Regions from separate parts of the Homo sapiens genome. Here all the other regions are linked to region 3. Evidence: promoter capture Hi-C in 16 types of primary human blood cells and fetal thymus (Javierre and others, 2016). All regions are on one chromosome and are shown on one strand. The core of a region is centred on a gene start or on the middle of the fragment in contact, and the rest is flanking DNA. Distances in the headings are between cores, read along the strand shown. Region 1 overlaps SLC28A3 (solute carrier family 28 member 3). Region 2 overlaps SLC28A3 (solute carrier family 28 member 3). Region 3 holds the start of IDNK (IDNK gluconokinase). Region 4 holds the start of SLC28A3-AS1 (SLC28A3 regulatory antisense RNA 1). Region 5 has its middle 48 kb from the start of SLC28A3-AS1. Region 6 has its middle 24 kb from the start of SLC28A3-AS1. Region 7 overlaps SLC28A3 (solute carrier family 28 member 3).

The links. Contacts are between HindIII fragments. The CHiCAGO score rates a contact against its expected background, and 5 or more counts as called.
Region 1: a contact is called between a fragment that was not itself captured here and the fragment with the promoter of IDNK in region 3, in 1 of 17 cell types (neutrophils). The highest score is 8.8, in neutrophils.
Region 2: a fragment that was not itself captured here is called in contact with the fragment with the promoter of IDNK in region 3 in 6 of 17 cell types (activated CD4 T cells, neutrophils, non-activated CD4 T cells and 3 more); the score reaches 10.5 in activated CD4 T cells.
Region 4: a contact is called between the fragment with the promoter of SLC28A3-AS1 here and the fragment with the promoter of IDNK in region 3, in 3 of 17 cell types (total CD4 T cells, activated CD4 T cells and monocytes). The highest score is 6.5, in total CD4 T cells.
Region 5: a contact is called between a fragment that was not itself captured here and the fragment with the promoter of IDNK in region 3, in 1 of 17 cell types (naive CD8 T cells). The highest score is 6.5, in naive CD8 T cells.
Region 6: a contact is called between a fragment that was not itself captured here and the fragment with the promoter of IDNK in region 3, in 2 of 17 cell types (non-activated CD4 T cells and neutrophils). The highest score is 5.8, in non-activated CD4 T cells.
Region 7: a fragment that was not itself captured here is called in contact with the fragment with the promoter of IDNK in region 3 in 12 of 17 cell types (activated CD4 T cells, neutrophils, naive CD8 T cells and 9 more); the score reaches 12.5 in activated CD4 T cells.

Annotation. Positions count from the first base shown.
Region 1 is chr9:84,335,320-84,338,357 of GRCh38, forward strand. All of the region lies in intron 1 of SLC28A3 (solute carrier family 28 member 3), which reads right to left. Among named protein-coding and RNA genes, the nearest start is that of SLC28A3, 3.9 kb to the right of the region's middle. The HindIII fragment of the contact is 3,398 bases long and covers 1-3,038 here.
Region 2 is chr9:84,299,009-84,302,181 of GRCh38, forward strand. SLC28A3 (solute carrier family 28 member 3) reads right to left here. Exons shown (of 18, transcript NM_001199633.2): 6 at 573-717. Among named protein-coding and RNA genes, the nearest start is that of SLC28A3-AS1, 22 kb to the left of the region's middle. RefSeq lists an enhancer at 2,980-3,173. The HindIII fragment of the contact is 9,450 bases long and covers 1-3,173 here.
Region 3 is chr9:83,621,039-83,624,432 of GRCh38, forward strand. IDNK (IDNK gluconokinase) reads left to right here and starts at 2,105. Exons shown (of 5, transcript NM_001001551.4): 1 at 2,105-2,183. The coding sequence starts at 2,134. RefSeq lists a silencer at 1,800-2,329 and enhancers at 2,510-2,639, 2,660-2,709. The HindIII fragment of the contact is 10,566 bases long and covers 724-3,394 here.
Region 4 is chr9:84,276,639-84,279,770 of GRCh38, forward strand. SLC28A3-AS1 (SLC28A3 regulatory antisense RNA 1) reads left to right here and starts at 1,532. Exons shown (of 2, transcript XR_001746802.1): 1 at 1,532-1,761. It overlaps SLC28A3 (solute carrier family 28 member 3), which reads right to left. Exons shown (of 18, transcript NM_001199633.2): 17 at 2,627-2,747; 18 at 1-1,706. The coding sequence ends at 1,580. RefSeq lists enhancers at 66-617, 750-1,949. The HindIII fragment of the contact is 13,311 bases long and covers 1-3,132 here.
Region 5 is chr9:84,228,950-84,232,245 of GRCh38, forward strand. No RefSeq gene overlaps it. Among named protein-coding and RNA genes, the nearest start is that of SLC28A3-AS1, 48 kb to the right of the region's middle. The HindIII fragment of the contact is 653 bases long and covers 1,613-2,265 here.
Region 6 is chr9:84,252,489-84,255,748 of GRCh38, forward strand. No RefSeq gene overlaps it. Among named protein-coding and RNA genes, the nearest start is that of SLC28A3-AS1, 24 kb to the right of the region's middle. The HindIII fragment of the contact is 1,411 bases long and covers 1,273-2,683 here.
Region 7 is chr9:84,314,886-84,318,098 of GRCh38, forward strand. All of the region lies in intron 1 of SLC28A3 (solute carrier family 28 member 3), which reads right to left. Among named protein-coding and RNA genes, the nearest start is that of SLC28A3, 24 kb to the right of the region's middle. The HindIII fragment of the contact is 1,015 bases long and covers 1,450-2,464 here.

The DNA.
Region 1 (3,038 bases), core at 258-2,757, 710 kb after region 3:
AGAGATGGGAGGATCACTAGAGGCCAGCCTGGGCAACATAGCAAGACCCTGTCTCTACAAATATAAAAAATAAAAAAACTTAGCCAGTTGTGGTAGCACGTGCCTGTAGTCCCAGCTACTCAGGAGGCTGAGGTCAAAGGATTGCCTGGGCTCAGGAGTTTGAGGCTGCAATAAGCTATGATTGTGCCACTGCACTTCAGCGTGGGTGACAGAGTGAAGCCCTGTCTCTATTTAAAACAACAGCAATAAATAAACAAAGGGAATCACTTCCAAGTTGACATCCCAAGCTGGAAACATTGACTCCACACTTTCCTTAAGCTGCTCAGCATCAAAAGCTGCTATTGTTATGTTCATACTATGTGCCAGGCACTGTTTTCACAAGTATGTATATACGTGTGTGTGTGTGTGTGTGTGTGTGTGTGTGTATAAAATGTCCATTATACATATATAATATTAGCTTATTTAATTATTTCAACAATCCCAAGATAGGTACCATTATTATGCTCTTTTACAGAGGAGAAAACAGAAATCTTCAGAGCCAGAGCAGCATTTAGGCCCTCATCTTTACTCCTGAATTTCATTGTGGAGGGGTCACCTCATCAGTATTAGTACCTCCGTCCCAGTGTCTGCATCCACTGCCTTTAGCCTGGTTTGGATTATGACAGTAACTTCCCAACGGATGTCCCAGCCACACACAAATCCCTCTCCTTTTCCAAGCACTTTCAATGGGGCCACCAAAGTAATATTAAAAAAAAAAAAATCAGCCTGGTGCAGTTGGCTCACACCTGTAATCCCAGCACTTTGGAAGGCTGAAGCAGGCAGATCACTTGAGCTCAGGAGTTTGAGATCAGCCTGGGCAACATGGTGAAACCCGATTTCTACAAAAAAATACAAGAATTAGGTCGGGCACGGTGGCTCACGCCTGTAATCCCAGCACTTTGGGAGGCTGAGGCAGGCGGATCATTTGAGGTCAGGAGTTTGAGACCAGCCTGACCAACGTTGTGAAACCCTGTCTCTACTAAAAATACAAAAAAAGTAGCCAGGTGTGGTGGCATATGCCTGTAAACTCAGCTACTCAGGAGGCTGAGACAGGAGAATTGCTTGAACCCAGGAGGTGGAGGTTGCAGTGAGCCAAGATCATGCCACTGCACTCCAGTCTGGGCGACAGGGTGAGACTTCATCTCTAAAACACAAAACAAAACAAAGACTAGCCAAGTGTGGTGGCGCATGTCTGTAGTCCTAGCTACTCAGGAGGCTGAGGTGGGAGGATTGCTTGAGCCTGGGAGGTTGAGGCTGCAGTGAGCTGAGATCATACCATAGCACTCCAGCATGGGTGACAGAGTGAGACCCTGTCTCAAAAAAAAAATCACAATTTGACTGCGTAAATTCTGAGCGATTCCTTCTAAAATGCCTTAGCACACGCAGAGGCCACCTGACCTGATGCCAGCCTGCCCCCTTTCCCTATACCGTGTTCCCTTCCTCCATCCCAGGCTCATGTGCTCTTCTCCTTTAGGGTTCTGAGTCTGTACAGATAGTTCTCTCTGCTTGCAGTGCTCTGCCCACCCCACCTCCTACTGTGACCTGACCATCCTTAAAGCCCTAATCAAATTCTCCCTCCTTTGGTGATGCTGTCACAGACTCCTCAGTCAGCTCAGCTCCAGCTATATATTATTTACAATGCACTTGGTGCTGGCTGGGTGTTGTGGCTCATGACTGTAATCCCAGCACTTTGGAAGGCCAAAGCAGGAGGATTGCTTGAGGCCAGGGTTTCAGACCAGCCCTGGTAAGATAGCAAGACAAAATATAAAAAATAATAAATATAAGAATACAATGCACTTGGTGCAAACCTCCGCCATTTTCCTTAACATCAATTATATTGTAATTGCATGCTTATTTCTGCCTGTCCTTCTCCTTGAGGGCAAGAAGAGCATATTATTCTTTCTTGAGTTGGTATCCCTTCTTAGAGGCGGCCATATCTAGGGGGCAGTTGATGATTCTACTGAATAAATAGAAATAACCCAGTCACTGTTTTTAGGTGTGGGTGTTGTTGGTATGATACTCTGCTGGGTTTGAGATGCCCTGCTTAGAACCTTGAGGCCTGGGGATGCTAGCCTGTGTGTGTGCGCGCGCGTGTGTGTATGCGTATGTGGGTGTGAGTGTTTGCACACGTGTGTGTGTGTACTTTGTCCTTTCAGGCAGTTATTTTTCCTGAACTGATGGGAACATCTTGCACAAAATCAAGAGCCAGTTTGCTGACTGTTTTAAGGTTTAAAAAATATTTTAAAATAAAATAAGAAATCCTTAGATATTCCACATACACGCAATACTTTAAATGCCAATCCGAACTTCCTTCATAAATAGCAAACGTCTTATTTGCAACTACTGTTGAATGAAGTCATTTCCATCCTCAGCCATATGAGAAATAAGTTCCTTATTCATAGAAAACGTTTAGAGGTACAATAAAATGAGATTAGAAAAAAAAAACCCTAACATTCATTTCTATCGTTGGTTACAAAATCCACTCTCATGTATGAAGTGTGCTCTAGCTGTGAAATCCTTTCTTGGAGGTGAGATCATTTCTCTCTTATAACCCATATCACTGACTTTGTGCTCCTGTTTAACCTTTCCCACTGGAGTACTAGCTCCATGAAAACAGCAATTGGTGCTCCCTTCTTTGAGGAACAGTCCAGATGAGAGCCTGTCCAGGTAATCCATAGATATGCATAACCATTGCACCTGCACCAGGTCTTACAGGCACAGGCCTTTTGGGAACCCATATCAGCATTTCAAGCTGTGAAAGTAGTTCTACTTAGTAAAATTAGAACTTTGGTCTACCAAGGGCACTCTTAATATTTGAAGAAGAAAAATGAATTTCTAGCACAATTCACAGACTAGGACAAGGTGAATAAGTAAGCATCCTAACTTATTTGGAAGTCCTGGTGGCATGTTAATGCATATTTAATAATGCGAGTGAAGTAGCACATATTTTACAATCAATTAATTTTCCTTAAAGAAGATAATGTAGCAGGAGAGCTGAA
Region 2 (3,173 bases), core at 440-2,939, 680 kb after region 3:
TTTTTCCTTGGGTCTTGCTTTTAATGGTAAAGTCTTCCAGAGTTTGCCATCTTGAGTTACATATGAGAGATTTGATGTCTCAGAATTCTTGCCCATTTCACGGGTTACCAGTGGACAGAACTAGGATAAGAGTTGAGTTCAATATTAAAAAGAAAATTGTATAAGGACAAATTTTTGGAGTATAAATGCCCAAACTGCATGGGACTTCGATGAACTGCAGGATCCAATGGAGGACTATTAGATTTTTTACTGGTCTGGGGAAATCTGGATCAAAATGGATGAGTTTTCTCTGTGTGTTTGATGGAGGGTATGCGAGAAGAAATTAGACTTGACAGGGAGAGAACGTCTCACTGGTTATGTAACTGGAAAATTACTGAGAATGGAGCATGAAATAGTAACAAACAGTACCATGAAAGTTCAGGAAGATAGGGCACCCTGGTCACGTTAAATAATCCCATCAAGGTAAGAAAAGTACTGAACAATAGTTAAATTCTCTCACAATCAGTATTTTGAGCAATTTACACATGGGGAGAAAAAGAAAAAAGAACCTAAAAGATCAACTGGATACTTACTCTGGTTGGGTACTTGGAAAATAGAAATAACAGGACAATGTACATTATGAGCCCACCGAAGGACACCAGCTGCTGTTGACCCAATTTGGCAGTGTCAAAGGCCAACCAGAAAATAACTGCTAGGACCAGGGAGCTCCAGATCACCCTAAGAGAAGGGGAAAGGAGGCATTGGCATCATTTGTTGTGCTAACTTGAGAATCATAATCAGGCTTAATTTTTTTTTTTTTTGAGAGATGGAGTCTTGCTCTGTTGCCCAGGCTGGAGTAGAATGGAGCGATCTTGGCTCACTGCAACCTCCACTTCCCGGGTTCAAGCAATTCTCCTGCCTCAGCCTCCCCAGTAGCTGGGATTATAGGCATCTGCCACCACCCCTGGCTAATTTTTGTATTTTTAGTAGAGATGGGGTTTCACTATGTTGGCCAGGCTGGTCTTGAACTCCTGAGCTCAGGCGATTGCCCGCCTCGGCCTCCCAAAGTGCTGGGATTACAGGTGCGAGCCACCACTCCCAGCCATCAGGCTTAAATTAACAAAGAAACATAGAAACAAGATGAATATACTCTGGCACCAGTAGGTTGTGCGTTTAGAAACTGCAACAGATTTTTTTGATTGTGGCTATCAAGGCAAATAGCTAAAAAATTAAGTACTGGGTCTCCTTACTCTACAACTCTTGGGCCCTTCACCTGTTCAAGGATGCACAAAGGGGCCAGAGAGGAGATAGCATGTTTGGAGAGGAATGTCTGGTGATTTCTTTAAGAGAGCTACTGGGATTCTTCACCTTTGTTTTGGGGGATGGGTGAGGTGTTACCTGCTTCCATTTAAGGAAGAACTTGGAATATGTTATCTGCCCTTGGGGGACCTCACCAGCGGCCGAGAGGGAGATCAGACGTTAGGGCAAGTTCTGGCTCCTCTGGGGAGCCCAGCAAGCATGACAAATCTGACTCAGGACTCACGGCTTGCACAGCAGAGCCAGAAAGCCTGCAGTGTTGGGATTGCACAAGCCCAGTTTAATAGGCCAAGGATGTGTGAATTTTCCTGGTAGATCCCACGTTAGTCTTGAGGGAGAGAACTGGTCTTGGGTCCTGCTCAGGGGGCCACCTGAAGGGAGAGGAGGTCCCTCAGAGAGAGGCTGAAGGAAAAGCTCTGAGCAGTTGCTGCAGGACACAGGGTCCTATGGGAAAGGGTCTCTCTAACACTTCACAGGCCCTTCCTCCCAAGAAGGCCAGCTTCATATCCATAGCAGGTAGCCAGGCTGATCCTGGCTTTGAGGCTGGCAGGGGAGCAAGTAACAAGGAGAAAGGGGACACTCAGGCCCAGGCTAGGGAGGAAAACTAGGGCACTGGGTCATGTTCACAGTTCTCATTACTGTAGGGGACAGCATATTCTGATGTTAAAAAATATCCATGATGCCTGTATCAAAATATCTCATATACCCCGTAAATATATATACACCTACGACATACCCACAACAATTAAAAATTTAAAAAATAGGCTGGGCACAGTGGCTGACACCTATAATCCCAGCACTTTGGGAGGCTGAGGCAGGAGGATCACTGGAGGCCAGGAGTTCAAGACCAGCCTGAGCAATATGGTGAAACACCCGTCTCTACTAAAAACACAAAAAAATTAGCTGGGTATGGCGGTACATGGGAGGCTGAGCTATTTGGGAGGCTGAGGCACGAGAATCATTTGAACCCAGGAGGCGGAGGTTGCAGTGAGCCAAGATGGTGCCACTGCACTCCAGTCTGGGTGACAGAGCAAGACTCTGTCTCAAAAAAAAAAAAAAAAAAAAAAAAAGAAAAGGCTGTAAACATTGGACTATTACTAAGAGTGTTCAGAAGGGTCATGGGCTTTTGGCAGTTTTATAAAATATAGGGTAGATATCTCCCATTGAATAAAATTGGAAGAATGATGAATGAAAAAAATTAAGTTTTATTTTGACCATAGCCCCATGGGTCATGAAAAAGAGTGCTCAGCCTCCCATGTTCTATGATCCTCATTTTGTAAATAAATTGTAAAGAGAATGGGTACAACTTGTGTAAGAAAAAAAGTTGGTAAAAATAAAAGCTCTTTACAGACACATAATCAGCAATCTCCATCAGTTTGTACTTATAACCCAATTCTTTATTTACAGGTACTGAGATTAGATGGCATTTGTGTTGTTCCCTATCTTGTGCCAGGACAGACATTACTGATTGATCATGGTGCCCTCCCACTGACAGGTCAGAGGGAGAGTGAAAGCCATCCTGCTATGACAAAACTTTCACTCTATCCTATATTTCTAACTACTTCCTAATACGTAGGCATGGAGGTGTCTCTTCCTAATATAGCACATGGAACGTAATATGCTCAACATCTTTTGGACAACATTTTATCATTTAATACACTTGACATTAAGGCAGTTTGTGAGGACATTTGGATACATTTCAAATGAGTCATTGCCTCATCTAGGCTTTGATTTCCTGTTTGTAAAATGAAGACATTGTAACAGATTACTTCCTAGGGTGTTTCTAGCTTCCATATCCCATAAATGAGGAAGCAATTTCAGAACAAATTTTTGAAACGGTGTTGGAAAGGACTACTATCTCTCTTAACTGAAATAAG
Region 3 (3,394 bases), core at 855-3,354:
GGCACAGAGTTTCACTGACACTGGCATGCTGGGTATCTTTCATTGGTACCTCCAGATACAATCTCCACCCTTCTCTTCCCTGCTCTGAGCCCAGGAAATTGGCATGCATGGGCACCGCCGGACTCCCTAGCTCTCCACCTTCCAATTGGGTTTGGCTGGTGGGGTTTGGCCACGAGCAGGAGATCACAGGGCAAGAGGAGGGGAGGGGAGGTTATTTATTCTCCTGATTATTTTTCTGCTGGGTCAACAAGGAATGTCTATCTCTCTCTTCCTAAGGCTACAGTCCTGTCAGACACTTCTTTCTATATGGTCTATTCTCTCTGTCTCTCTCCTTCCATTCTCTTCCCTTCCCATATAAAGGCTCCCTCTCATCAGCCCCTTTCTATTTAAGAGTGAAAACACTTCTCGGTTACTCAGATGTGGACTCTGCCCCTAGTTGCTTTTTCTGACCCTACCCACACCTGTGCTAATAGTCCCTTTGTTAAATCCTGTTCACCTGCCCCAATTTGAGCATGCTGTTTCCTGCCACCACCCTGAGCAGCACAGCAAGTTTAAGATCCTTGGACATGTCTGGGGAAAGAAATCCAAGGAGAAGAATCAGATTTTCTGCTAATCATTCTGATTTGAACATTGAAAGAAATATGAGCTTTTTTTTTTCATACTGAGCTAGCGAAGCAGGGCACGAGTTAAGAGTATTTGCATACACATCTATTCCTCTTATCAAGCTTGAGAATGCCTAGAGGGTAATCTTTTAAATGAATATTAATATGATATTAACCAGCACATGGTAGATGTTCAAGAAATGTGTATTGACCATAACTGAATTGTAAGACCTCTCTCCAAGCCTCAATTTCTTCACCTGTACAGCCCCCATCCAGATTGAAATCTCACCTACTCGGGCTAAGTATATGAAAAACAAAGGCAGTGCAGGGGTAATTGAACTATTCATTAGATAAATGCTTTTATGTCACTTTTATTGTTTTCTAGGACACAGAGTAATACCTACCTTGGTTAACAAAAGACCAAAGGAGGTGATGCCAAATGCGGTTAGAAGTGCTTTTAATCACTTTGGGAGGCCGAGGCGGGTGGATCATGAGGTCAGGAGATCGAGACCATCCTGGCTAACAAGGTGAAACCCCGTCTCTACTAAAAATACAAAAAAAATTAGCCGGGCGCGGTGGCGGGCGCCTGTAGTCCCAGCTACTCGGGAGGCTGAGGCAGGAGAATGGCGTGAACCCGGGAAGCGGAGCTTGCAGTGAGCCGAGATTGCGCCACTGCAGTCCGCAGTCCCACCTGGGCGACAGAGCGAGACTCCGTCTCAAAAAAAAAAAGAAGTGCTTTTAATCAAATAGTTCAAACGACACATAATTAACATTGTTTTAAAGCAAATGGACACTTTAAAGTGGTGCTCCTTCCTCTTAAAGCCCCAACCAGTGCTGGATTTAACAGCAGAGCCATACAGCCAAGACATATGCTGCTACGGTCAACACTCAACCCTAAGTTTGACACCAAAAGATGGCCGCCATTTATTATTGTGACAAAAGGCCAGATTACAAAACGCTGTGTACGGCCTGATCCCAGTTTTACAAAATACTCATACCCATCTATCTACGACGGGGCGCGGGGAAAGGGGAGTCGTTTTAGGAAGTGCTGCTTATTGCTGCCTGGTGTGGGAAATTATGAGTCTTATTTTCTGTTTATTCTTTTTACAAGAACATTTTTATAAATGAATGAATGAATGCTTTCCATGGGTGGATGAGGATCCGGCCTGCCAGGGTGAGGATCCTCTGGAACCAAGAGGGGCCGGGGCAGTAGAACGACAGGTGGCGGGGCTTTGGGCGGCTCCCTCCAGCCCAGGGAGACGCGAGTGCCAGGCCGGGCGCGCGCTTCACTTCCGGGAAGAGGAAAGAGGGAGGGGAGGGGAGAGGAAAAGAAGGGGCAGGAGAGAGAGGCCGGGAGGTTGGGAAAGGGAGGAGGAAAGCATGGAAAAGGGGCGCGGGAAAACGGGGAGGGCGCAGAGGGGCACGGCCCTCACTGCCCCGGCCGGGGCGAGAGCGGCTCCGCCCCTCGAGCGCCGGGTAGGCCGGGGCCGGCGGGGCCCGGAAGGCGACGGGAAGGAGCCGAGCTTGGGTTATGGCGGCGCCGGGCGCGCTGCTGGTGATGGGCGTGAGCGGCTCGGGGAAGTAGGTCCGGGAGAGGGCGGGGGGCGCCCGGGACAAGTGTTGCGGGCGCGGCGGAGGCCGGACGCGTCGCCGTCCCTGCCGGTGGACTGGGGTCTTGGGGACCCCCCACCCTTCCCTTTGCAGATGAAGAAACCGAGGCCCGCGGCTGCCGCGCCCTCTCCCCGCCCTCCAGCCTGCTCGCGGGGCGCCCATCCTGGGACCGCATCCGAGCTCCGGGTTCCCGCTCTAAGACGGGGAGGCTGCGGCGACCGCAGGCTCAGGGAGGAAGCCGCTCCTGAACAGGCGGCTGCGGGGCCGCGCAGGTGGAGGCCTAGCGAGCGGCGCGGGGCTAGGTTTCGGGGCGCCTTGTCGGGGCCAGGCGGGAGGGCGCACGGCCTCTAGCGAGAGGACGCAAACCACGGCCCAGGCTCTCACAGACCTTTGGCCATCTGGACACACAGCGGCCTCCTCCTATGAGGCCCTGGACTTCTCCGATTCAATTTTGGAAAGTGAATCGTTTTCCCCTTCCTTTCATCAGCTTAACCTGGAAGGAGACAGCGTTAATATGGAGGGTGGCTCCTGAGGGTTTGGAAAGAAAGAAGAGAATTGTGGAAACCACAGAGGTAGCCCAGTGTGCTAACCTGGAGACTGAGGAGTTAACATTTGGCTTCCTGTTTAAACCAAAGTCTAACTGTGCCCTTTATCAGAAAAGACAGCTGCTGTACCATTCGACCACAGGCAGCAAAGGACAGAACTTGATCAGCTAAAACATCATAACCTTCAAGGGCCTATAGGACCCTTCTAGAATTTTCTGAATCAGGAACGGCCCATGTTGTGGCCTGTGTAGTCAGGTGTATATTAAAGATTTACTCCAGGTAGATGGGTTTTGCTTTCCAAAATTATTGTAGGGTTCTCAGCCACAAAGATAAAAAGAAATCTTGAACTGCAATTGAAATAAAACATGGAGCCCCCAAATCCCTAGCTGCCATATGATTTGAATCAGTTGGAGAATGTAAAATCATTGCCATGGTGTGATGTAACAGGAGTGAAGAGCCCTAGGTCTTGGTTCTGTTGCTGTCTGGCTGTGTGAGCCTGGGCAGTTCATGTACCCCCTCTGAGTCTTGAATCAGATGAGGGAGGCCTAATCCCTATGATGTATAGCTTGTGATATTCATGTACTCAGTAATTATTGAGCTCAATCCTTACTCTATGTCATTGTCATATAGCGAACA
Region 4 (3,132 bases), core at 282-2,781, 660 kb after region 3:
ACATTGAGCTCCAAGGAAAATTGATACAAATAATAAGAAATATTTTAGTATATCATACTTCAGGGATAAACAGTCCTCTGGACATTAGGCCTCCTCCTTCACCACCACAAAAAACAAAACACACAAAAAACCCCAACTATTTTCACATAGCTTTTTCTTTTAAATTACTCTTGTACACAAACAGAAGGAAAAATAGAAACAAAATAAATTACTTAAGGTATTTCAAAACCTTTTTCACATTCAGTGTCTGTTTCTTGACTTGGTAATTGATGTTTGTGTTTTCTCACAGCATGTGGTCTTCATGCTATTAAGAGCAGTGGTGATGGGCATTTCGTTAAAGAGCACACCACCATTGTCTCTGGAATCTTTTTCTTAGACACTGACACCCATTCTTCAAGTTTGATACTGATGCCATCCTGGTCAATGAAATTATCAACGCAAGGTTTTCAGAGCTCAACCAGGACTTTTTTTCCTCAACTGCTTCTTACACGGCTTTTGATTGAAGAGTAGCTGCTTTGTCACCAGGAATACATTACCAAATGTGCAGATGAATAGGCCTACCGTTATGGCCTACAACAGGATGGCTCCTTGAAGGGAGACATGGATATTATGTACCCTTATGGTGTATCATATTACTTCTGCAAAATATTCACTATCCCTCCCTATGACAGGATAATTTAACTGTGGTGACTGACATCGTGCCTGTCACAGGACTTGTTTTGGCTAATGGAATGTCATGGAAGTAAAGGGTATCATTTCCTAGCGGAAGATGAAAGAGCCATCATGTGGTTCCCACCTTTCTTTTCCCTCTTAAGACCAACATGCCCCCCTTAGAGGCTGCTCCTTTAGACTGGGTGCTGAAGCAATATGGATTACAACCAAGATGGATCATTACAAACATGTGAGTGAAAAATAAATCTGTAAGCCACTGAGGTTTTTGGGTTGTTTGTTTCTGTAGCGTAATTTATGGTTAAACTGACTGATAGAACTCTTAAGCAGAATGGATTTAAACCCTGGTTTTGGTATGATCCACGTGTTCTCCTCAAGGACTCTTGATTTCTGCAGGACTTCCTGAGGGTAGTCAATGAGTTGGTGATTGATGACTAGTTTTCCCTTATGTGAGATTCAAGTTCAGGCTATTTCAGGTAAGCCAAGGTATATGCAGAGTGACCTCACCTGAGATGTGCTTAAACTGAGTCACCCTGGACTACTTAGTGGACACTAAGTGGGTGTGGGTGAGTCAGAGCCCAGTTGTTGGGAGCGGCCGTTTATAGCTGTATTCTGGTGAAATGCCTTGCAAACATTAAAGTCAGAAAATCCCATTGAGACTGGAATCAACAACACCTCACTTTGGGACATCATAGCAGTTCTTGGTGGGGAAGGGGCTGGTGGGGAGGGAGGGGAGGAGGAAAATGTTGTAGCTTTGAAGGTCCACTCTTGTTTTTCTTCATTCCTTGCAATTAAAGCTGATTCCATTATGGAAGCATCAATCTGTGGACAATAGCTTCTTTTTTTTTTCTTTCCAAAGCAGAAAATTCAGCATCTGTACTTCAGAGTTCCACTGGAGAAGTGGCTGACCTCAAAATGTATTAGAGATCCCATTGCAGTTAAAGGTCGATGGATTCAACAATGTGCAGCAGCCCTTCAAAGAATACAGACTGTGGTTTCCTCCTGGGATGACTTCACCAGGACCCTTGGCAACAGTGCTGGTGGAAAGTGGAAAGAAACAGTTACATGAGCCATAGATGGCAGAAACAGTAGGTGAGCAGACAATGACATTAAAAATAGTTCAGGGCAGGAAGCTGATTTTCTTGCTCACATTCTGGTTAGGGTGGATTAAAGGACAGAGACACTGGGGAATTTGTTTTGGCTCCTAAATTCTGGGTGTCCTCAAGAACTTTCCCTATTTCCTCCATAACAAGCAAAGATAGGATAGAATCAATCCTTATAAAACACTTGCACATTAAGGATGGCACCTTGTGTGGGAACACTGATTTTGCAAATTAAAACTGTACAGGGTGGGGGTGGCTGGCATGGGTCACTGGTAGTTTCTTGTTCACCATAGACGATCATCGTGTTGTCTGGACAGCCTGGATCCCCTTGAAGGGGAGCCAGCAGAGGGTAGCAGTTAAGGGCATAGGCTTAGCAGGAAGATCAGCCTGAATTTTGTATCTCACTTGTACTTGTGCTAATTTTGCTGGAGTAGACATAGCTTCCCTAAGCCTTAATTTTGTGGAATGAAAAAAAAAAAAAAAAGATAGTGCCCAACTTATACAGTAGTTGCAAGGTTTAAGTGAGCTAATTCATACAAAGTGCGTAACACACAGCTGGGTGCATATTAAATGCTTGAGTAGCACTAGCTAGTGTTATAGTTGCTAGCCTTATCTGAGAAAAGTCAGAGTGAAAGGTGGTTAGAATCACTGCATAAGTTCTTACTTTTAAATAGAGTCATAAAGTTATAAAATTAAGTCGATGAGTGAGCGGAGATTGCGCCACTGCACTCCAGCCTGGGAGACAGAGCAAGACTCCGTCTCAAAAAAAAAAAAAAAAAAGTAAGTGGATATTTAGGTGTGATTTGATTGATTATTAATGGAGTATAAAGAAATTATAATCAAGAATACAATACCTGCTCAACAGACTTTGGCAACAAGCTATCACCTTGGTTGTGTTTCCAGGGAAAGTGGAGTTGAAGGCATTCTCTAAAACGTGATGGCAGTTGATGTCCACAGGAGTGCTGGAGAGTATGCCTAGAAGTGGAACAGAGTCCCATTTATTTATTATTTTTTAGTTTTATTTATGTATTTATATATTTATTTATTTAGAGACAGAGTCTTGCGCTTTTGCCCAGGCTAGAGTGTAGTGGCATGATCTCTGCTCACTGCAACCTCTGCCTCCCGGGTTCAAGCGATTCAAGTGCCTCAGCCTCCCAAGTAGCTGGGATTACAGGCACGCACCCAGCTAATTTTTGTATTTTTAGTAGAGATGCGGTTTCGCCACGTTGGTCAGGCTGGTCTCAAACTCCTGACAGCTGGTCTCAAACTCCTGACATCAGGTGACCCGCCCGCCTTGGCCTCCCAGTGTGCTGGGATTACAGGCGTAAGCCACTGCACCCGGCCCCATTTATTTTATTAA
Region 5 (3,296 bases), core at 689-3,188, 610 kb after region 3:
AAAATTAGAAATCAATGCATGAGGTTACACATTGGTTTTGGCCTAAAAGGGTGGGAGATCTTGAAGCAGTGACTTCCAGGTCACGGGTAGGTTCAAAGCTTTTCTGATTTGCAATTGGTTAAGGAAGACAGGCTCTATTTAAAAATTTGAGGTCAGCAGAAAAATAAATGTTAGCTCTGTCTCATGGGTATGACTCCCTCCAAATCCCTCAGGAAGAAATTTAGAACACAGAATGGTGGTCAGAGTTCAATCCTCAGCTCCCTCTTATCTGGGGTCTACTTGAATCTGTTTGGTGAGAGTCTGGGTTTCTGAAAAACAACTCAGAAACACAGGTTCAGATGTTACCTTTAGTTTTGATAGGGGCACCAAATGTCTCCTGACTCCAACTTCCTTTGCTATTGTTTTAGGCCACTAATTACCTCGTTGCTTACCGAGTTGTTCATTTACTTCTCACGGCTAGCTAGCTAGGTACCTGGAATTCCCCTTTCAAGGAACTCAAGATTTTCCTTTATTTTCATACTTGGCGGGGCTCACAGGCCCCTAAAAGCTGGGGAGTGTCTTTGCTCCATCTCAATAAATCTCACCCAATTTACAAAAATATGCATACAGCTGCTTTTTTGTTACAAGAGAAATACATGTTTATGATAGAAACTTAAGACATTATAAGTAAATAAAAAGAAGAAAATAAAAATCGGCCTTATGTACCGTAGCGGCTGCCGGCATTCATTGGTCACTTTGTCTTTTTTCTGGGTTAATACTCTACATTTTACTTGAAATGTGCTCTCTTCACTTCAGATTTGTTTTTTCATATCATTAAACATTCTTTTACAATACAGTTGATGATGTCTTGGTATGTTTTTTGTAGAAATGACACAATTCATTTAAATAATTCCCAATTGTTCAACACTTAGACTGTTTCCCAAAGTTCTCTATTTTTTCCCATTTTTGCCTTATGTGCATTTTGAAGCAGGGCTCAGAGCTTTGACTTACCTCCAAACAGAGCCAACTCCACTGTGAGTTAGAAGACATGAATGTTTCATGGAGAAACAGAAACTTAGCCATTTGATATTTGTGCTTTGTACCCATTCTCCTTTCCAGACACTGGCCTCTTCTCTCTTTTTTTCTCTTTCCCAGACAGTTTCTAAATGTCCCTTATGATGTCCAGAGTTGAGAGTCATTCATCTCTGTACACTCAGCAAAGCAAAAAGTTCTGCGGTCAGCAGAACGAACCATCTTGACGTAGCAGTTCAGGGACCATCGATTTTAACTCATATGTCCCTTGAAAGGTTCACCAAATAATTTATCAAAGTATTATGGTTATTTCCTTGAGATAAATTCTTAGAGGTGGAACTGCTGGATCAGAAAGCATAAAAAAGGGAATGTTTTCGATGACTTAGGAACAAGGGTGTCAGGTGTGTTGATTTGCTTTCTGCCAGTGCTCTTGAGAGAATGTTGATTTGACTGCAGTCATTAACTAGCTGAGATTTCGAGTAGAATTCCTCTGGTTCATTTGTCATTCTATTCCCTGTCACCGTACTTGGCAGTAGAGCATCAGAGCTCTGTCTGGGAAGTACAACCACTATGAGTGGTATGAATAAGGGATTTGTTATAAAGCTTAGACTTTATGCAACTGTGCAAGGGCTAAGCAAGTATAGTTCTGAAAGGAGATTGGGTAGCATCATAGAAAAATCACCAACAAGGGGCCATGAAGGGGAGCTGTGGTTGGCCTGAGGGAGTTGTAGGTCAGCAGGGCAGGCAGTTGGGAAGAAAAGCTGGCTGTGAAGCAGAGGGAAATAGTCAAGTAGAACGCAAAAGGGCAAACTGGAGCCTGAATCTGTGTTTCACTGATGTCTAACTCCAGTGGTGCTGATGACCTATCAAACAATCGGTGCCTTTTGCTATGGAGCTGTGCATGTGTCTGGCCCAGGACTAGTTGAAGCTGAAGGAGTTGATCTAGTGGGAGCTGAAGGAGCTGTGTGCCCTGCCTCTGCCCCATGCTAACAAGACTAGCCAGCAGATCAGCCCCTGGGGCCTCCAAGGCACTTAAAGCATAACGGCTGCTGTTATGTAGCTTCCAAACCGCATGCAAATCTTCCTTGTGTGCAATCCTCACTTGGAACCATCTGGGGAAAGGACTTTTGGGAAGCATAGCTCCAGCTTAGCTAAGTTGACAGAGTAAAACCACCACAAGCAGTGCCTGTAGGACTCAGTGCCAGGACAGAAAAGTGAATTCTAGTGAAGATAGTATTTACTATTGCCTAGGGAAGCTTACAGAGGTAGCAAAGCCAGAAAAATTTTGCTGATGTGTTTTCCTGTAAGGGAAGAAGTTTCCCAGAAGGGAAAACAAGCTCAACACTGAGGAGAGAATTCTGCAGAGAAATGTTATACTTTCTCCCATGAGAGAAATTACTGAACCAAATATTCTCAGGTCTTTTGGTAGAGGCATTGATGAGCCAATCAGAGAAGGACCATGTGTTTGTATCATTTCTCTGAAACAGACTTAGGAAGTAATCTGAGCTAACCTATGTATAAAAATCTCTGTAAAGGACATGAAAATACCCCCAATCAATAATTAGAAGCTATTGTTATTGGAGATGCTGCTAATCTTGTATCATGAAGAATTTATACAATTACAGAAGTTGAACTTGTCTGTAGCAGCAGTCCTCTTCAGAACCCAGAGAACCTATTGTATTTTATTGCACTTATGGGATATTTGTCATATGTTCCAAACACAGGCAATAAATTATAATATTAAATAATTCAAGCCAGGCATGGTAGCTCACACCTATAATCCCAGAACTTTGGGAGGCTGAGGTGGTGGACCACGTGAGGCCAGGAGTTCAAGACTAGCCTGGCCAATATGGTGAAAGCCTGTCTCTACTAAAAATACAAAACTTAGCTGGGCATGGTGGTACACACCTGTAATCTCAGCTACTTGGGAGGCTGAGGCAAGAGAATTGCTTGAACCCGGGAGGCGGAGGTTGCAGTGAGCTGAGACCATGCCACTGCACTCCAGCCTGGGCTGGAACAAAAAAAAAGAATTCGAAATGGTAGTAGTCAACTACTGAATCTCACTGCTTTGGAAGAGACCTCCAGTGGTAAACTTGAACATTTTCAAAATTTTCCTGTTTATGGCATAATTTTTTTTTCAGCTTTATTGACAACAGTGGCAGTGTCAGAGACAGCCTGATAAAAGACAATGAGGGGAGGCTCAGCCATAATAACGTAGGTGGTGGAACTCAGATGCCTCTATCTTTGTATCCTTGTTCTTATTGTGGCTATCGGTCCCCACAATA
Region 6 (3,260 bases), core at 728-3,227, 630 kb after region 3:
TGTTTATTATTTGTAATAATTTTTGTTGTTGTATTGCTGTTTTTATTTTTATTTTTCTTGGATATTTTTGATCCAAGGCTGGCTGAATCTACAAATAAAGAACCTGGGCTACGTTGGGCCAACTGTAAATAAAACTTACTCATTAAACAGGGTATGGAAAATTTGACCAGGGAAGGTCTAGTCTTAATACCACTGTGCCCTTATTTTCAGCCAGCCATCTCCCCTAAGTTTTGGCTGTGTGTGTGTATGTGTGTGTTGGAGCATGTGTGGAGAAGTAGTAGTGTTCTCGAGAGGAGAAAAGTGTGAGAGCATGGAGCACTCTCACCTTGCATTTTGTTCTCATCCTTTCTTCTCAAGGAGCACTTATAGGCTTTGTGATGGTTAAACCCACAGGTAAAAGCGCTAGCCCTTTTCTAACATTAATGGGTTACTACAAGGCAAGGTGTGAGCTTACATTGGACATCATATTTTGAGAAATAATGAATGATGCTCTGGCTGGACTGTAGGGTTGAGGGATTCTTACAGAGAAGAGCTCAGTAGATTTTTTTCCCTCCGTCTAGGAAGAATGCCCACAGCTGCCACATTGCTACCTGCTTAGTGCAGCTTGTGGCTACTTGCAACTCGGCTCACAGTCACCCGTTTTCCGGGTATACCTAAAGCTCTTACTCGTGACCCTACTCTGTGACTTGGCATTCAAAGCCCTCCAGGATTTGGCTACAACTCTCTTTTATAAGCTCCTTTGCTTCTCTGCCCCTGCCTGCACCCTGTGCTCCAAGCAAGTTAAATGCCTCCCTCTTCCCTACACAGCCTCATCCTCCCCCACGTTGTGGCTTTGCTCGCGCCTGCTATGTTTGACAGTGACTCTGCTTTTCTACCTCCATGTGCCCAAATACTTTGTACTTTCAGGTTTAATGCATACCTCATCTCTCCATAAAACCATGCCTTATCCCTTCTATCTCAATGTTACCTCTTTCTCCTCTGAACTCTTATAATATTTTATCTGTCTCTCTCAGGACCACCTCTTACTCCTTTGGTTAGTTATTGATGTTCACGTCTCATTTCTCCCATTAGATTGTAAGTTTCTTGAGGGCAGGGCCCATATGAAATTTATCTGTCCCTCAAGTGGCATCCTGCACATAGTGGGTACCTAGCCACCATTTGTTGACTAAATGAATGAAAACAGCATTAATCAAAAGCTTTGGAGATTGACATTCTTGGAGAAATGTTGGTCAAAGTGCATTCCAAGGACCATTTACTTGGGGTGGGGACAGAAGCTTGTTGAAAATGCAGACTCATGGATCCTACTAAGATTTACCAGATCAGAGTCTGTGGAAGGTGAGGCCTGGAAATTTGTGCTTTAAATAAGATTCCTGAAAAGTCCGATGTTCAAAAGCCCATAGATTTGCAAAAAAATATTCAGTCCAGTTGGAGTCAGGCCCTTTAAGCTAAGCACATAGAAAGTGAGAACTAGGGGCTAGGGAAATGTTAGTCCACAGATACCAGAGAGGGCATTTGTATCAGCTTTAAAGCTGGAAAAGGGAAGTTGACATGAATATTAGTTATGATTTGTAGGAAGTCTGTCATCTAATGCAGAGAAGCCTTTGAAACATGCATTTCAGGGTAAACAGTTTATTATGTGTGTTGTCCATCCAACACTCTGTGTTGCCAAGGCTTGGTTCCAGATTCGGAAGAGACTCCTATTGGAAAATTCAAAGGCCATTGGTTTATTGAACAGAACTGGGAGCTCGCTTATTTATTTATTTATTTATTTATTATTATTTTTTTTTTTTGGAGACAGGGTCTCTCTCTGTCACCCAGGCTGGAGTGCAGTGGTGTGATCGTAGCTTACTGCAGCCTTGAATTTCTGGTCTCAAGCGATTCTCCTGCCTTAGCCTCCTGAGTAATTAGGACTACAGGCACATACTACCACACCTGGCTAATTAAAAAAAGTTTTTTTTTTAGTGATGGGATCTCACTATGTTGCCCAAGCTGGTCTCAAATTCCTGGTGTCAAGCTATCTTCCTGCCACAGCCTCTCAAAGCCCTGGGATTACAGTTGTGAGCCCTGTTCCCTGCCAGGAGTTCACTTATTAATTTAAAAAAATTTTAAGTAAGTAAATAAGAAAAATCAGCCAGGCTATAGAAGTCAGAGTGAAAAAAATTCAGCTTGGTCGCAAAAGAAAAAACACCATACAGCATCCAAGTGAATATTTTTAATGCTTATAAAATTTTAATAGGAAGTGTGAGATGGATTTTTGCAGGCTTTAGTTACTACAGCCAATTGGTAACTAAGGAAATACTCTATTCTTCCCTACTGATTTTTCCAGGTGATTTAAACCAAGGATAAAAGCCCTCAAGAATTTGTTTTTAAAGTAATATCTCTAGCTGTCTAGGGAGAAAGGAAATAAAATGAAAGTCACTCCTCTCTTTACATAAAAAACCTTTCCCTGAAGAAAAGTAGTGTGGTGGTCAGTGGTGTTAAGAAAAGGTAAAAATGGACAAGTATTTTTAAAATGACGGTATAACTAGGGTACTGCTAATATTTAGAAAGACAGACAATTATAACAGTTGAGCTGCAGAGAAAATGGCTCAATGTTCTATTTTCAGCTTTTCAACAGGTCAGAGTCATCTAATGAGGGCCGTGGCAGGGTGGCAGGCACACTTCCAGCCGAACTGGTTGTACAAGCTTCTTGTACTAAAAGCAGTCTAGAAGAACCTTCCTAGCATCGAAGCAGCAGGGAGAAGAGCCTGTAGGACCCATTTTTCTAAACACTGTGCTCTTCTTTTTCCTTTTAATTTTCAACTTGGTGTCCATTAGGAGATTTACCTGGCTGCATCATTCAGACGGTAGTTATTGAGTTTCCGCTTAGCCAAGGGCTGTGTTATGTATTTTCTCTGCCTCTCATGTCCTGAGCCAATTTGCCTTATCCAAGCACATCTCTGTTATTATTCTGGAAATTGGGCCATCCTGACAGTCTCAGACAGAGCCACCTCAGCTCTGATTTATTCTGCGAATGTCTTGCTTAAAGGCACAGAGGCAAACCTCTTCAGAGGTATATTTCTCCTGAGTATAAATGCAGTTGTATGTATAGGATTGACAAATTCAGGTTTTTTCCTGCTGTCTGAAATACGGTGCCCCTCTTACCTCAAAAAAGCAAACAGCACAACCTATACTGTGCATGGCTAACAAGACCACCAAATCACAGTGACAGTGGGTGCCTGATGGGATGTGTACCTGAGAGAGCCCCATCTGGGGTCCCC
Region 7 (3,213 bases), core at 707-3,206, 690 kb after region 3:
GGCTAACATGGTGAAACCCCGTCTCTACTAAAAATACAAACATTAGCTGGGCGTGGTGGCAGGTGCTTGTAATCCCAACTACTTGGGAGGCTGAGGCAGGAGAATTGCTTGAACCTGGGAGGCAGAGGTTGCAGTGAGCTGAGATCACACCACTCTGCACTCCAGCCTGGGCGACAGAGCGAGACTCAGTCTCAAAAAACAAACAAACAAACAGCATGAAAAGAAAAAATATACATAGTATGGGAAGATGACAGAATGTTGCTAATTGCTGAAGTTGGCTGACAGGTACCCGGAGAATCATTTTATTATTCTCCTACTTTGGTGGATGCTAAAATGTTCCTTAATACTAAGTTAAAAATAAAACCAAACATGAATTGGTGGAGTAACAGAACACAGGTCACTGAGGGGCTAGTCCTTAGGGTCCCTACTGAGCAGGCCACATTCTCTCAAGCCTTAACTCCCTCATTCATACAACACAGTTTGGATTTGGGGTTCTTGCGGATCCTTACGGAATCCTGACATTTTCTAATTCTATTAGGAGATTCAGCTTCTTGACGTTGATTCCTCCTGCCACCTGGTGGCAGGATCTGAAAACTACTGGTGGAACACGGGTGGATCCTACGTTTTTAAAGTTAATGAAAGTGGAAGGTGTGTGTGTTGAGGGATAGAGTGGGCACTCCTTTAAGTGGCAACAAGAGCACGTGTGGTTTTGTTCTCCACTGTGTAATAGTCTTATTTGGCCCCCAACAGAGTATACGCCTTGGCCTTTTAGTATTTTCTGGAAGAACAATATCTCCCACTTGAGGATTTCCAACAGAATTAGTGGGGTTATTGTGGATATTGACTGGTACCTGGAAAATGACCATTAAGACAACTGTCTTTCTTCTTCTTTTTAAATTAGAGTCGTGGGGCTGTGATATGGGGCCCCAGATAATGTCTTAGCTCAATGTTTCTTTCCATTTATTTAGCAACTCACATTACTAAATACCTTTGCACACTTAACGCCCTACAACCACGACTGCGTTCTCATGGTAAAATCTATCCCTCTGTTGAATGTGTAAGAAAGGTGAGGGAATTGCATTGTGAGTATGTCTAGGCCGTTTACAGCTTACACATTTAATTTCTCTAGTTAGTTTTAGTTGTTAGGTGTGCTAAAAGATGAGGGTCCTGATTGAGCCCCCTTTGAAGGGACAGCCTAGTAACCAGGAGTACATTGTGCCTGGGGTTTGTTTCCCACCATTTCTTTGATCTTGCACTTTCTATGTGGCTATTAGAGGGAGGCAGAGATGGACAGAGGCATTTTTATTTTCTTCCTTTCATTCACTTTCTAAACCATATAATAACTTCTAGAACACTGGAAATTTCTAAAATGACTCCCCTATTTGTGGTATCCCTTTTCAAAGAATGTTAGCTGACACATGGTCACCTAGGAAAAAGATTACATATCCAAGCTTCCCTTGCAACTAAGTTCTGGCAACGAAATGAAAGTAGAAAGGGTGCCCTGTTGGGGGCAGCTCGGGGAATGTTCCGCCAGGGATGGCTGGCAGGTGCACTTGTTCCTTTTTGTCATTTCCTCTGTCTTGCTGCCCAGTGTGAGGATGGTTCCAACTGGACCATGGATACAAGGCCCACATCCTTGTGATGTCAGGGTGCTGAGTTGGGAGGAACTTGGGTCCCTGGAAGCCTTGAGCAGGAGGCTCACCCCGGCTCTGTACCATCCACCTCAACTTTATTGGGATGAAACTAACTTTTCTCTTGTTACTTTTGGTTTTTGCTTTTATTTTGCACCAAATGATACAGTATTTAGTAGGCAGGAGACACTGTGTAAAACTCTTGTCTGGGCGTGGTGGCTTATGCCTGTAATCCCAGCACATTGGGAGGCCAAGGCGGGCGGATGATGAGGTCAGGTGTTCGAGACCAGCCTGGCCAATATGGTAACACCTCGTCTCTACTAAAAATACAAAAGTTAGCTGGGCGTGGTGGCGGGCACCTGTAGTCCCAGCTACTTGGGAGGCTGAGGCAGAAGAATCGCTTGAACCAGGGAAGTGGAGGTTGCAATGAGCCAAGATCGTACCAGTGCACTCCAGCCCGGGCGACAGAGCAAGACTCCGTCTCAAAACAACAACAACAACAACAACAACAACAACTCCAAGAGGCCTATGAGGTGGGTACCATGATCCACATTTTCACAGATGAGGAAACTGAGGCAAAGATAAGTAAATCACTTGACTTGGGTTGTGTAGCCAGAAATGGCTGGGGTAGAATCTCAGCCCAGACTGTCCCTCCCCAGACCATCTTGTGCCTATAGAGGAGTGATTCTTTGGGCCTGGTGAAGATCAAAAGACACAGTAGTGTGCCTAGGAATTAAATTCCGTTTGGAAATTAGAACTTAGAAAGCCTGATTTGAACTCCAGATATTAAAAGACAAAGGTATAAATTATAGAAGTGTTGAAAGTTCCAGAGAAGCTTGTGGCCACTTTTAGCTACACCTAGGCTCTGTGGTCATTTCTCAAGCCACAATAGTGGTCTTCCTGCCCTGTACGCTGGTTTTAAGTGGAATATATCCTTTGAGTAACATGGGTGGGGACTCCTGCCTCTGTGGACATGTCTTGTCATCATGGCTGGTTTGACATTCTTCAGCCTCTCCCTGGCACTGTGCTGTAATCACACAGCCTGGCTTCCATTTCTCAGTTCTTGTGGTGGGGGTTTTTCTGCTGCAGAGGTACCACCACTGTGCTAGGAGAGCCTTTCTTCACTATAGAATTTGCTCTGGCCTGGTTGCCAGAGCAAATTGCATGAGTGGTCTTGCACTCATTCAGTGGTCTTGCTTCTTGTGGGAATGGAGGCAGTACCTACCTAACAAAGTTGGGTGGCTCCATCCAGTGGCACACATAGTAAGTGCTCATTGACTATTAAGTTAATTTCATGGTTTAGTTTGCTTCTCGCTTGTTCTGGGGCATTTACAGTCGTGTTGTCCTCTGTATTTGAAATTAGACTTATCAAAATCAACATCTGTTTGGTGAATCTGATCTCTCAAAATTGTTTGGGATCATACCCCACTTCAACTCTTTTTTTACTCTTACCATCTACCAATGTCAAATGTTTTAAGGCCCTTTCTCTAAATGTTATTCTTCGACTGCATGGATTTTGCCTAGGAATGATTGCATTTTCAAAGACTGTATTTTAGAAGTCCTTGATCGTTATCTATTGGTC